Regions from separate parts of the Homo sapiens genome. Here region 2 is linked to region 1. Evidence: promoter capture Hi-C in human tissues and cell types (Jung and others, 2019). All regions are on one chromosome and are shown on one strand. The core of a region is centred on a gene start or on the middle of the fragment in contact, and the rest is flanking DNA. Distances in the headings are between cores, read along the strand shown. Region 1 holds the start of TRERF1 (transcriptional regulating factor 1). Region 2 holds the start of TOMM6 (translocase of outer mitochondrial membrane 6).

Region 1 (6,837 bases), core at 2,829-5,328:
ACCCCCACCATCATGCCCAGCTAATTTTTGTATTTTTGTAGAGACGGGGTTTCACCATGTTGGCCAGGCTGGTCTTGAACTCCTGACCTCAGGTGATCCGCCTGCCTCGGCCTCCCAAAGTGCTGGGATTACAGGCATGAGCCACCGCGCCCAGCCCTAAATCCTTACTTTTCATGGCAATGTCCAAAGTCAATAAAAACATCAAGAGCTTCTCCCAAAAATGCCCATAGTGAAATACAGAGAATCCTGGTGATAAAAATGATACTATATCATTATTATGAACCTTATCACAAATATTCAGCCAAATCCCAATTACCCACAGAAAGCAGGCAAAGCCACACTGGGCTTTCTGGTCTCCAGTTTCTCCCCAAAGCTATCTCCTCCTGCTGCCTGGGAATAAGAGCTTGGTTAACCTTAGACTTGACCAAGGATTAGACAAGTTAACCAACTGGCTGGAGAAGAAACTTCTAAGATGAACAGAAATTATTTTTGGTACCTAGGATATGTACATGCTGCACTCTCTGTTAGTGCATAGAATTGAGAATTTTTTGTCCAAGACACTGGCAGACATTTATTCATAAGTATTTCCTTGTGTTTGATGGTCAAGATCACCAGGCCACTCAAGAGACCTTTCTGGAATACCAAGGATCAAATCCACTTTCTCCATGAGAAGACAAAAACAGAAGTTAATCAGCTCACCCAAGTCCATGAAGCAATTGGCCGTTGGCTCAGGAAGAGACTGTCAAGACCTCTGGAGACCTCGCTTACAAGACACAGAATTTCAGAGCCGGAAGGGAACTCACGGATCAAACCACGCACTTTTAAGATAAAAAATCCAAAGCCCAGAAATGGCTAGAAATTGGTACCTTCCCCACCTTTCTTTCCAGTGATGTTTCCCCTAGCCTTGAGCATCAAACTACTTTAAGTTCTTTGTCACTTTACCAATACTGTAAACTTAAGCCAACTATTGAACACAAGACAATTTTAACACTTCCTGGCTAATCAGCTTCACAGAGAATCCTTACATTTGTCAAAAAAATAACGCTTTCGGTTATTATAACCAACCCACCCATTAAAGAAGGAGAAAAAGAAAATCATAAACAAGCTTTATTTTTTGTGACCACACATTTTATTATACAAGCAGCAAAGAACACTGCAGTCTGTCTCCTCTTTTACACTTTAAGTTCCTAACTCAACAAAAACCACAGGCCCAAGCCGGTTATAGGAGGCAAAACTGAGTACTTTCCACACAGTTCATAGAACAACTGTTTTCACAGCAAGCTCACATAAATGCTATGTGATAATAACACATGCCTGCTATGTGGAAGCCTGCTTACCAAGCTGTGAAAAGACCCATGTTTACTATGGAACCTGCAAAATTAATCTTCTCATACAGCAGAAGGGAAATGCTCTTTTTGGGATGTCAAGCTGGCTTCTAAACAATCCTTTGGCGAAAATGGACATGCCTAAAAGGGCGGAGCCCAGAGAGGTGTGTCACTCCGGGTATCAATTCCTATAAATCAGATCCTGACAATCACCACAATATTTTAAAAAGAACGAATTATGATTCATGGGCCTTCAAGCCTTTATTACCGCAAGAACATTCTCGGTAGAAGAGGAAAAAAAAAAAAAACTACTGTGACTTGATTAATGGCCAAAGCAAGACAATAAAATAAATCTCATAAATATAAGGAAAAAAACCTGAATGACTGCTCTTGGCTCTGAGGCTAGGCATGTAAATAATTCCACCCTGGAATGAACATACATAAAGATTTTGTTTACCCTCCCAGCAAATACAACAACCAGACTCAGATTTTCATCAGGTAAAAATAATAGCTAATTTGCTTAACTAATGCCTAGTTAGGAACATTTGATAAGCAGCAATAATATTTAATTCCCAACTAACTCAACTCTCAAACTGCCAAATATCAACCCTCAATCTGGAAATCTGACGACAGTTAGGAAAGAAAAAAAGCACTCTCCATCAGCAATGTGTAGCGAGTTTTTTAAAACCCATTTTTCTCGACCCTGCTAGAACAGAGCCTGTCTACAGAATTGCAGAAAGCTTAACCAACCTCAGTTAACCCCACTGCCTAGTGGCTACTCCCTAACCCTACTAAACGTCTCCGGGTTGGACCCGAGATGCTAAAATTATCCTAGCAAAGTTAAAACTCCCAGCATCATCAAGGTAGCTGACAGCTAAGACCTACAACTCTTCTGCAGAAACCAGTAGGCTGAGGACCAAGAAAACAGAGGCAAGGAGAGGCAAAGGCTGCTGGTTAACTAGTTAAGCACTGAGGACTCCTGCTGTTATCCTCTCCAGTCAGTGAGCATCAACACCACACTTCCTATCGCCAAACTCCTTTCTTAAAAGGGTCAGTGATGCAGAAGGTGGGTGCTAACTGGGACAACTTAAAACTCCCCTTCTTAAAACTCTCCTCAATGACCTGCTGAAAAGTGCACCTGGACCGGTTTTCAGGAGATATTTTTTAATGAACTCTTTAGCCACTACAGGGGCGGTCATTCCTAAGCACGACTTCCACGCACTCACAAGACAGCCCAGGCCATGCTGAATTGAAGCCATCCCCTTCAGTACTGGCACTTGCCAAAGCTGCGTCTAGTCTGGGGAAGAGTTTCCACAAAGCTGGCTCTAACAGGCCGGTAGAAGACACACGGAGGAACCAGAAAGCGTTTTCTTGTAACCTAAGGATGGCAGGCGCACATGCTCCAGTCCAGTGCTGGCCAGAGGCTGCCTGCCAGGTGCTCTCGGCCTCCGCTGGTGAAGGAGTGGTTTGGTTGGTTTTTAATATCTGTTTCTTAAGACCACCGGCAGTAACTTCCCAGTCTCCCAAACTGAAGTTGGGGAGTGAAGGAACAGGTTTACCCCCTTACACATTTCTCCCATCTGGGTGGCCACACTAACTTCTGGGGAGTACCCAGCCCCCACAGAGCCCGCAGGCGCGTATACATACACATATGTATCATGTCAAAAACCCCAAAAGGCAGAGTCCTGCGGTTTCTTAGCTGGAGAATGAAGCCTTTATAACATCACAACCTCAAATGCAAGCCCACCATCACTACCTTTAAGCCAGGGTTGCCAATTATAGCGCCCACCTCATCCCTCCCCCTTTGCTGGGATGCTGTGCAGCCCGGAGAGGGAAGAAGGGAAGAAGGGAGAAGGCCTGCTTGCATAGTGAAAGTAAAGGGGGGGGAGACTTCTCCTTCTGTCTCCCCACTCTTCCCTCCCCACTTCGCCCCACCCCCGTCTTCTCGAGGAGCATCCCCAAACTAATTTTTTAAAAATGAAACTTAATAAGCTTCTTGCCTACCTTGGCTGTTTCTGCAACAAGTGCATGGGCAATCCGACGAGAAGACCAGTATCCGCTTGGGGGGTGAGATGGGGGGCGAGCAGAGCTGATGGAGTAATTTCAATATTAATTTATGTCAGCCGCCTTCTCTCAGCGCTACTCACTTACTGTACTGCCCTCAGCCTGTAAACAAATATCGCTCCGCCAGGAAACATACTCCCCAGATGCAAGCCCCTCTCCCCAGCAGGGAACCTGGCCCCTCGTCCCCCCGACAAGAGTGTGCTCCCCCACCCAGGGTAGGAAGCTTTGGGTTTCCAAAGCACCAACCCACCACCTCCTCCACCACCCCAGCAAGAAACTTACTCGGTCCGTCTACGCCTCCACCCTCCCTTCAGGAAATCTACTCTCCATATGCATTCAGCCTCCCCGCAGGAAATCTGCTCCCCCCTCCCCCCTTCTATATACATGCACCCCTCCCTCTCCTCCTCCCCATGCGCCCTCCCCGGCCAGAAACTTACTAGTGAGCAAGCGTGCAGGCTCTCCTGATGCTGGAAACTTACTCCCAGATATAGCGCCCGCCAGCCCCCTTTCCCAGCCCTGCTCCCCTTCCTGCCCTCCGCCGCAAGCAACTCCAAACTCTCCGCATCCAGCCGTTCTCCCTCCCCAGTGGAAATTTGCAGCGCCGGGCTGCGCGCGTGCATCCACCCTCCCCTTCAGGAAACTTACTCCCCATCTGCATGCACCGCCTCTCAGCCATCGCTTAGAGGGAAGGGGGTGTGCTGGGGAGACAGAAATACATATGTATCTCTCGCCCCTCCCCCGGTCGCAGCCCACTCGGGGCCGAGCCGCGGTAACCTGGCCTTACCTTTGCATTGCTCCCCATCCTCGCCCCCTCCCTTAACCCTCCTTATCCGCTCCCCGGTACCCCCCTTTTTTCACCCATTACCCACCCCTAGCAACCGTTCCCAAGCTCCTCTCGGCCTTTTTTTTTTTTTTAAATCCAGGATGCAAATTCCTCCCTTGTCAGCAAATCGACTGTCAAATTATTTTCTTGCAAAAGGAGAAAGGCGGGGTGGGGGGGGGGAGCAGGAGCAAAAAGAGGGGGAGGGCGGGGGAAGGGAGGGGGAAGGGAGGGAGAGGGACCGAGGAGGGGAGATATCCCTCCGCAGAGCTGGGTCTGGCCGCGGGCGGGGAAGCAGGAAGTAAGGTGTCCAGCGCCGCGACCGGCTGGTCGTCCGCCTCGGCCCCCGCCCGCGTCCCCTTTCCCCCGGGGCGCAGCGCTACGGCGGGCGCGGGCCGCCCGGCGCATTGTTCGCAGCCTTCGCGGCGGTGCGCTGCTGACTTTATTTGTGCGCTTTGCGTGTGCGTGAGGTTGCACCTTTTGTAGGCTGGCGAGTCTCTGGACGAGGATGGGACGGGGGACACGGGCCCAGTTGCGGCCCTGCGCGAGCGGGACCTGTCAGCCCTGAGGTGCAGCGGACCCTCCGGCATGGCCGGAAAATCGAGGCCGGGGAGAAGGCAGCGTGGCCGGGAAGCTGCCGCCTTAAACCCGGACCAGTGCAGGATTGCTTCCTGCGTAGCCGTCCCGGTTATTGTAACACGCTTTGCAAGCTAACGACTGGGGTTTGTGAGGGGGTTTGTTTATTTTTCTAAGTGTTTGCAAAGATGCCGAGGTCGAGGCGGGCTGCGAGGAGACGGTCCGCGCCTACCCCCACCGCACCCTGGCCTCGGTGGGGCTGGGAGAGGGCTGGGGCTCCGGAGAAGGGGCTGGAGGTTCGCGAAGCGCGCGTCTCCATCCCTCCGCCCCGATGGGGGCGGGGAAGGGGTGCAGTAGACCGCGCTGGAAGAGCAGCTCTCTGGGGAGGGGTCTCCCTTGCCGCGGCAGGCGCAGCAGGCCGGGGAGGGGGGTTGCCTAGGAGAGGGGCCGGGCGGCGGAGGGGAGGGGAGGAGAGGGGGCGCGGGTGCAGCCGCCGCGCGCGCTCGCCCCTCCTCGCGCGCCATGACTGTGGAACGTGGTGCCGGGGAGGAGGGACGGCCACCGGGGGCCGCCCGGGGCTGCTCGGCATTGGTGCGGAAACCCGAGCCCGGAGTCGCTCCCTCGCGCTGTCTCCTCCTCCTCCTCTGCGGGGGAAACCGCTGCACCCAAACCGGGAGCAGCTGCGAGCAGGGGGCAGGGCGCGGGCTGAAAGGCGAGCCGAAGGTTCAAACCTCCGCGGCGCGGGCGGGGGCGGAGGGCAACAGCAGGACGGCCCCCAGGTCCCGAGAAGGCGTGGCAGTGGTCGGCCCAGGTGTCAGGGAACCTGGCCTGAGACCCCTGCATTTCCAAGCTTCTTTCCTGGTCAGAGGAAACGTGAACCAAAGGTAGTTCAGCTAAACAGACCACCTCGAGCCGGGTTCGAGGCATCTGTCTCGAGGGCAAGACAGTATTTTTTGCACGACAGAAAGTTACACCATCCATTTTTTTCCGTGGGGGAAATCATTGCGCCCCTTCCCCCAAAATGTCGCGCAAGAAGAATGACCTCCCGCTACCCAGACCTTCGCCAGTGTCCCCCACCCCACCCCCACCCGGGCGCTGGGTGTGGATTGGGCGGAGGGAGGCTATATGGGAGCTTAAAGCATGAGGTCATGAGCGGAGGAGACTGCTGCCAAAAGCACCCGAGGTTTTTGTGTTTTTTGAGGGGTAACGGTTCTCCATCTTCAGCAGTGGAAAGTCCTCCCGCCTACCCTACCAATTCTGGGGCACGTGGACCACAGAGTCCCTGAAAAGAGGAGGGGACCCGGGCTATTTCGCTTAATGAGCGTTTGGCGCGTGCCCAGCCCTTTATGGAGCCCTTCCACATAAGCAAAGAAAGCCGAGGGACAGCGCACAGTGTTGCGGCGACTGGGAAAGGCTTCAGATGCTCGATGTCCCCCGCCCTCTTTCCTCAGTCCTCGGTCATCTTCCAAGTGGGCTGCTTTCTGCGATAGCTTCCTGTCCCCCTCCGACCCATTCCTCCCAAGCGACTAAAACTCCTAATGACATTATTTTAAAGCCTTCAAAACCCTCTTCCATTGCCCTTAGAATAAAGCCAAGTTGTGATTTCGCCTCTACAGACCTCTCTACCCGCCCAGCTCTTCCTCGGATATTGTAAGCCCCGTCAAGCTTTCTTTGTTCAAGGGGTGGAGGAGGGGGCGCCTAACCTTTCCCCTTCCACCTCTTCTTACTAACTCCTGCTGGACCTTCAAGATTTGACTCAACTGTCAGTAACTTCAAGATGCCTTCCTGAGGGTACACCCAGGTCTCTACCTCAGGGGAAAAGACCTACCCTAGGTCTCCTGGCAGCAGCGCTGTGGCCGGAGTTGGCCCCAGTGGCGGCCTTTTTCCAAGCGGAGGAGGAACAGCCAAGCTAAGCTTGACCACCGTCACCGCCCAGGGACCTGAGCGGGAGCTGGCTAGGACAAAACCTCAAAACGGGACTTGGGAAAACCGCACCACCCAGAAAACTCAGCCCCTCCACCTCCCTCCCAGCACACACACACACCCTCTTAA
Region 2 (6,837 bases), core at 2,275-4,774, 660 kb before region 1:
AAACCTCGGTGAACTCTGCAACCCTCTCCCGAACACTCCTCGCTGCTGCCGGCGGTTCCAGCCTGCAAACTCAGAGGGGGCTGCCTGGATCCAGTCCCCAGCAGGAGAACCGACCTGGGGACAAAGCGGAGGCACCCAAAGGGCAGGAGCAATGCCGCCTGGAGACTATTCGTGATCCCAAGGACACCCCTTTCTCCACCTGCTCCTCCTCCTCTGACTCGGAACCTGAAGGATTTTTCTTAGGCGAGCGCCTTCCCCAGTCCTGGAAGACCCCCGGAAGCCTCCAAGCAGAGGACAGCAACGCCTCTAAGACGCACTGCACCATGTGCTAGTGGCGCAGCTCAGAGAGGGGATGTGAGTGGGAGGAAAGGGGTCTGTAAAGCGGGAGAACAAGGCTAGCCTCCCCCTAACAATCCTAGACTGAGACGCAGTCAGGCGCACGCCCGCAAGAGGCGGCGAGGTGACAAGTTTGGAGTGCGCCCCCTTCAGTACTGCGCGTTCTAAGACTTTTGGCGGAGACTTTCTTGGCAAAACCCATTCCCCAAAGCTACGCTTCCCCTGCTGAGATAGCCCCTACCCCCACCTCCACAGGCTGGGACAGCCCCGTCCCCACCATCCTCCTCCCAAGCCAATTAAATGATCACAGCACGCGTGACAGTTACCGGCTGGAGAGCCGGAGGTGGGACCGGGAGCAGGGGACCGTAGAACCGGGCCGCGCTCCTCCCCTCCTAGAGTTCGTGGAGGCGCAGCAGAGGGCCGTCCCTCTTCCGGATGTCGGACTAAGCGAACAGCGCCCCCACTGCCGGCCGGTAGCAGCCGGAAGTGCCAGACCGGAGGTGCGTCATTCACCGGCGACGCCGATACGGTTCCTCCACCGAGGCCCATGCGAAGCTTTCCACTATGGCTTCCAGCACTGTCCCGGTGAGCGCTGCTGGCTCGGCTAATGAAACTCCCGAAATACCGGACAACGTGGGAGATTGGCTTCGGGGCGTCTACCGCTTTGCCACTGATAGGAATGACTTCCGGAGGTAACCGAGCCCGAGGAACTTGGTCCTTTTCTGGCCCTTAAATCCGTATTTCCCCTTTCTTGCGAGGCTGGCGCCTCAGGGTTTTTTGTTTTTGTTTTTTAACATTACCAGCATTGTGGCGTCTTCGTAGCTCTGGCTGTGCCTCACTGAGATCCCTGGCCAGGAGAGTTCCCGTGTGGCAAAAGCGATCTTTCTGTCATGTGGCTGTATCTGTAATGTCACCCTGATCAAGGGAAGAAGTGCTAGCACGTAAACAGGCTTTTTCGGCCCTGGACTAGTGCTTTAGCTGGGCTTTGCGTTTGATCTTACATTTCTTTTTTGTTTTTTTTTTTTTTTTGAGACGGAGTCTCACTCTGTTGCCCAGGCTGGAGTGCAGTGGCGCGATCTCGGCTCACTGCAAGCTCCGCCTCCCGGGTTCACGCCATTCTCCTGCCTCAGCCTCCCGAGTAGCTGGGACTACGGCCGCCCGCCACCACGCCCTGCTAATTTTTTGTATTTTTAGTAGAGACGGGGTTTCACCGTGTTATCCAGGATGGTCTCGATCTCCTGACCTCGTGATCCGCCCGCCTCGGCCTCCCAAAGTGCTGGGATTACAGGCGTGAGCCACCACGCCCGGCCTTTTTTTTTTTTTTTTTTTTTTTTTTTGAGACGGAGTCTCACTCTGTCGCCCAGGCTGGAGTGCAGAGGCGCAATCTCGGCTCACTGCCCCTTCTGCCTCCCGGGTTCAAGCGATTCTCCTGCCTCAGCCTCCCCAGTAGCTGGGATTACAAGCGCGCGCCACCACGCCCAGCTAATTTTTGTATTTTTAGTAGAGACGGGGTTTCACCATCTTGGGCAGGCTGGTCTCAAACTCCTGACTTCTCGATCCACCCGACTCTGCCTCCCAAAGTGCTGGGATTACAGGCGTGAGCCACCGCGCCCGGCCACATTTATTTCTTTTTGAGACAGCCTCGCTCTGTCGCCCAGGCTGGAGTGTAGTGGCGGACCTCAGCTCACTGCAGCCTCCGCCTCCCGGGTTCAAGCGATTTTCCTGCCTCAGCCTCCCCAGTAGCTGGGATTACAGGCGCGCACCACCACGCCCAGCTAATTTTTGTATTTTTAGTAGAGACGGGGTTTCACCATGTTGGCCAGGCTGGTCTCGAGCTCCTGACTTCGTGATCCGCCTGCCTTGGCCTTCCAAAGTGCTGGGATTACAGGCGTGAACCACCGCGCCCAGCCTGACCTTACACTTACTAGGCACAAAAATGAACTCCAAATTCCCACGTGGGTCTTGAGCAACCTGCCGTCACAACCACGTATCAACGCCTCGGGAAGGTGGTGATGGAAGCCTTTCCCCCCAGTACATTTCGTTAACTGTACAACTGACTCAGTGACCACAGGGTTAATAAAACACATTGTTTTTCCAGGAACTTGATACTAAATTTGGGACTCTTTGCTGCGGGAGTTTGGCTGGCCAGGAACTTGAGTGACATTGACCTCATGGCACCTCAGCCAGGGGTGTAGCCAAGTAGGTAAGCACTGAACTACACCCATGCGTGTCTTAGGAGACCTAGAGACTGGGTGAAGCAATGTTTTCTGTCAAGTATTCATGAAATGTACAAAAGAATGTGATGTAAAACCCTTAACTATTCCTAGTTAAATGTGTTTTCAGATGTTGAAAGGGATTTAAGTATCTCTTACCAGTTTCCCTCCCATACTTTTACAGTTCTAATGCCACCTGTCGTCTTATCATCTGATTGCAGACAAATGGAATCCTGTGCTGAACCCGAATCTTCCAAAAAACAGCCTACAATCTGTGACCACCACAAGATGTGCCCTGATGGCAGCTGAAGTTTGATTCAGATGGGCACTTTTCTTCCCCTTCCCTGCCTAGTTTCCTTTTGTTCCTTGAGTCCACGCAGAATTCCATTCTCTGGTCAGCAGACAGGCTTAAGCTAAAGTATTGCCTCTATTCTGTAAAGTTCTGTACATAGTTCCCAAGCTTCTGCAGGGGGTGATTTTTGCTCTTGTCCTGAGAAATAACAGTGCTGTTTTAAAAAACATTTGAAATAAATACCGCACACAAAGGCAGTCATTTTATTCTTTTAATAAGAAACTTTTGCTTACAAAAACAAGGTGTAAAAAGATTTACAAAAATCATAAAAACATGATTTATATTTCACACTTGAGAGACAAAAACAAGCCCCAAAACATGGATTTTAATGGAGGTGGTTTGCTTCATTTTAAAAGGGAAAAAAAAAAAAGGAAGCTGTAACCATACATTGATGTTAACCTAGCATGAAGTTTATTCTTGAAGAATTTACATTGTTGAGCAATATTAGGGGAAGAAGCCATTTGGTGTTGCATAGCATTTTAGTGCACCAGATGGGTTTTCCAGACACCAGGGAGGCATCATTGCTGGAATAGTGAGGTTTGGTGGCAGAAAGAGGGCAGTGATGTGTAGGGGGAGGCAAAGTGAAGTAAGCCTGGGCAGTGGTCACTAAAGTGACACTGCTGAGGCAGCTGCTTCCTTCAGAAGGAAATGTTTTGTGACCCTAAAATTCATGGTAGTGCTACTGTCCAGGGTTTGGGGGCTCTTTGGAAATGGAGTATGTACGGAACTGGCATGTATAGACTTATATAGCCATAGAAAGAGGTGGATAGAAACAGGTCCACCATGGCAATATTTTTTTCTGGCCAGTTTACTAGGCATTAAAAAAAATACTGCTTTTATGTGCCAAGTCTCTTATGGAACTAGTATGGGATTAAAGGACGTTAATTGGAAAGGAGGGTCAGTATATAAGGACCACAGTGGCCTGTTAAGGATGACAGATGTCTCTAGCAGTTTGTTCACTACTAAAGTTAAACAGGACAAAATAGTCTTTCCTGACCTTGCTGGCATAAATATTAAGAAAATTGTTTGAGAATTAGATTTTTTTAGTATGTATATAAAAACAGCACCATTCTTTGTATAAATCAGATAGATCTTATCTGATAGATGAAGCTAAGACCCTTTGAGTCTACACTGGGTTGACTCTGAGAGGTTTATATCTTATTGGGTATTAAGATAAAGAAGGGTCACATGAGAGCAAAGCTTAGCTTTGAAGCCATCACCTCCCAAATGGTGACCAAGGAGGAAACTTTTAAGCCATAGTATAGATGCTAACCCCCATTTAGACCTGCATCAGATCACTTGCTAAGACAAGAAATACCAGCACCTCCTGTTCTTTATAGGAATGAAACTTAGATCCTTAAAGGCTGCTACCTGATATACTCATGACTGGACAGTTTTGATAAAAACTTCCAAAATTGAAAATCAAAATCCAGCAAGAATTAAGACATGGCAGCTTCCAAAAGCATAATTCAAATTTCATTCAAAATTTACTGTTTTGGCTTCAAGTAAGTGTTTACTGTTGGTTGGGTTTTAAAGCCATAATTATGGTTGAGTAAGGATTCATTTATTTATTTATTAAATTTTTATACATTTTTGAAAAGATTTCAAATCTATGTTTCCCAGGCTGGTCTTGAGCTCCTGGCCTCAAGCAATCCTCCCACCTTGGCCTCCCAAAGTGTTGGGATTACAGGTGCTAGCCAACTGCATCCAGCCAATGTTTCATTTCAACTGGCTTAAATCTTCAAAGTGGTTAAGAATTTAGTAAATAAAACTACTTAATCTACAACTTTCAAAAATTGATGAGTAATCACTAATTCTGTAAATGAAGGAGTTGGACTTCACTATTGCCAAAGCAACATTTTCCCCAAGGAAAGTCAATTTGATATCCTGTCACACTTTTCAGCCCTGGCTAGTTAACACAGTACTATGAAAATCTTTAGCTAGATTTTAAACGAAATATGCCAGCAGAAGTATGGAATGAGTCCACAAAAATGAGTGCCTGCCACAATGCTATAGTAGCTATGGTGTATTTAGTGCAGAGTGTGGGATGAATAAGTACATAGTAATTAAAGTCATAGTCCTGGCCCAACAGAACAGTTACTAAATGTAAGATACAAACTAAACTCACAGTCATATTTAGAAGGCGCTTTTCAGCTTTAGCACTGACTTAAAAAGTCTGAACCACCAGGAAGATGCGTACTTAACTGGTTAAAAAATTAAGTGGCCCTGGAAAGTTTTACCCCAAAGATACAACTTCTTCACTTATTTAGTTCAGTAATGAGGCTGAGGGACCCAATTTTCAAGTGTGCATTTGAGTGGGAAACTTTTAAACACCATATGTTGAAGTTTCATGAGCTCAGTGGAAACCTTAAGGTCAGAGTAAAAGAAACTGGCTGTAAACAGCCCTGCAGTGAAGAGACTGGGTCTTAGCACCTTCCACATTCACTCAGCGCCATCTCAGTCAGCGCCTGCCAGGGAAAGGGCATGGAGAGCTGGGACGGGTGCCTTCTCTTTTGCACCACTCCCTTTGCATATTACACAGTGCACTGGCTTGCCTTACAATCTAAGGTTCACATACAGGGGGTTTTCTATACTGCTTCCGGACATTTTTTGCAAAAGAACATCAGAACCAATGAAGGTACCATTTCAGGAGGAATCATTTTTGTTTGACTTCTGCTATATGTTGCCCAGCATTAGTCATTGTTTTGATAAAGACTAAAAGGCCTTTTCTCAACATTTGTGCTCTCCCAACCACCTGGGAAAGCAACCCTTCCACTCACAAGAGGTAACCTCAGATAGGGATATAGTATTCATTTAAGAAGGGGTAGCCCCCCAGCCTGATTTAAAAAGGCCCAAGTCAATGTATGGAACATGACAAGGGAAGTGAAAAACAATGGAGTACACAGTCTGCCTTGAAAAGCAGCCATTTGATGAACAGTCACAAATACAAAGAATTTGGACATTGTAACATAATTTCAGAACTTGCTGGTAAGAATAATTTGCATTCACACACAAGAGACATGAAATGCTTTTTAAAAGTCTGTGATACCAGATGTCCTTTAAACACTACACAGACCCATTTGCCACTTGAAATGACAAGAAGAAATCCTTTCCCTTAATCTTTTCAATTCCATGCAAACCGTAATTGAGTACAAGGCACCAAATTTTATGAATTGTATAAAATTAGTTCACAAAGCTTTATCAGTAAGTAGAACAAACTCCATTTCTCCCTCCCGGCCAGCCCACCCTCCTCCCACCCACCACCCGCCATCCCCGACCAAGTTTTCATTCTGCACTACTGTCGACCTCTCTAGGGCTTATGCTGGGGCATGCCCCACTGTCAGCCAATCCACCTCATTGGTTCTTCCCTTGTACTTGGATGAAGCTGTAAGCACAGCCAGAGTAGCAAACTCATACAATCATTGACTCTAGAAGCCTTGCCATTAAAAACAAAAATAAACTCTGCTATTGAGTCCATAGGACACATTAACACTTCTACAGTTTCCAATTTTATTCATGACATTTTAAGAGACATCTGGAAATTCTTTTTTTTTTTTTGTTTTTGTTTTTGTTTTTTTTTTAAGACAGAGTCTCGCTCTGTCGCCAGGCTGGAGTGCAGTGGCACGATCTCGGCTCACTGCCCCTTCTGCCTCCTGGGTTCCAGCGATTCTCCTGCCTCAGCCTCCCAAGTAGCTGGGACTACAGGCACGTGCCACCATGCCCAGCTAATTTTTGTATTTTTAGTAGAGACGGAGTTTCACCATGTTGGCCAGGATGATCTCAATCTCTTGACCTTGTGATCCGCCCTCCTCGGCCTCCCAAAGTGCTGGGATTACAGGCATGAGCCACCGCGCCCAGCCTGGAAATTCTTTACAGTGTAGCACTGCCCCCCAACCCTGCCCCATAACTCCGAGACTGAGGGGCTGGATCAAAGCT

What was found. Contacts are between HindIII fragments. The study calls those that stand out against the background at their distance.
Region 2: a fragment that was not itself captured here is called in contact with the fragment with the promoter of TRERF1 in region 1 in 1 of the 25 tissues and cell types used here (dorsolateral prefrontal cortex).

What each region holds. Positions count from the first base shown.
Region 1 is chr6:42,447,848-42,454,684 of GRCh38, forward strand. It overlaps TRERF1 (transcriptional regulating factor 1), which reads right to left and starts at 4,079. Exons shown (of 18, transcript NM_001395490.1): 1 at 3,827-4,079; 2 at 3,330-3,414. LOC124900214 (arf-GAP with GTPase, ANK repeat and PH domain-containing protein 2-like) reads left to right here and starts at 4,513. Exons shown (of 4, transcript XM_047419627.1): 1 at 4,513-6,435. The coding sequence starts at 4,974. The coding sequence ends at 6,071. LOC107986596 (a long non-coding RNA gene) reads left to right here and starts at 4,513. Exons shown (of 5, transcript NR_171668.1): 1 at 4,513-4,778; 2 at 6,370-6,435. RefSeq lists silencers at 4,544-4,623, 5,094-5,533. The HindIII fragment of the contact is 3,351 bases long and covers 2,692-6,042 here.
Region 2 is chr6:41,786,798-41,793,634 of GRCh38, forward strand. It overlaps TOMM6 (translocase of outer mitochondrial membrane 6), which reads left to right and starts at 897. Exons shown (of 3, transcript NM_001382294.1): 1 at 897-1,028; 2 at 2,435-2,539; 3 at 2,771-3,098. The coding sequence starts at 901. The coding sequence ends at 2,531. USP49 (ubiquitin specific peptidase 49) reads right to left here. Exons shown (of 8, transcript NM_001286554.2): 8 at 3,099-6,837. It overlaps PRICKLE4 (prickle planar cell polarity protein 4), which reads left to right. Exons shown (of 8, transcript NM_013397.6): 8 at 1-655. The coding sequence ends at 332. RefSeq lists enhancers at 585-1,584, 655-1,344. The HindIII fragment of the contact is 3,149 bases long and covers 1,951-5,099 here.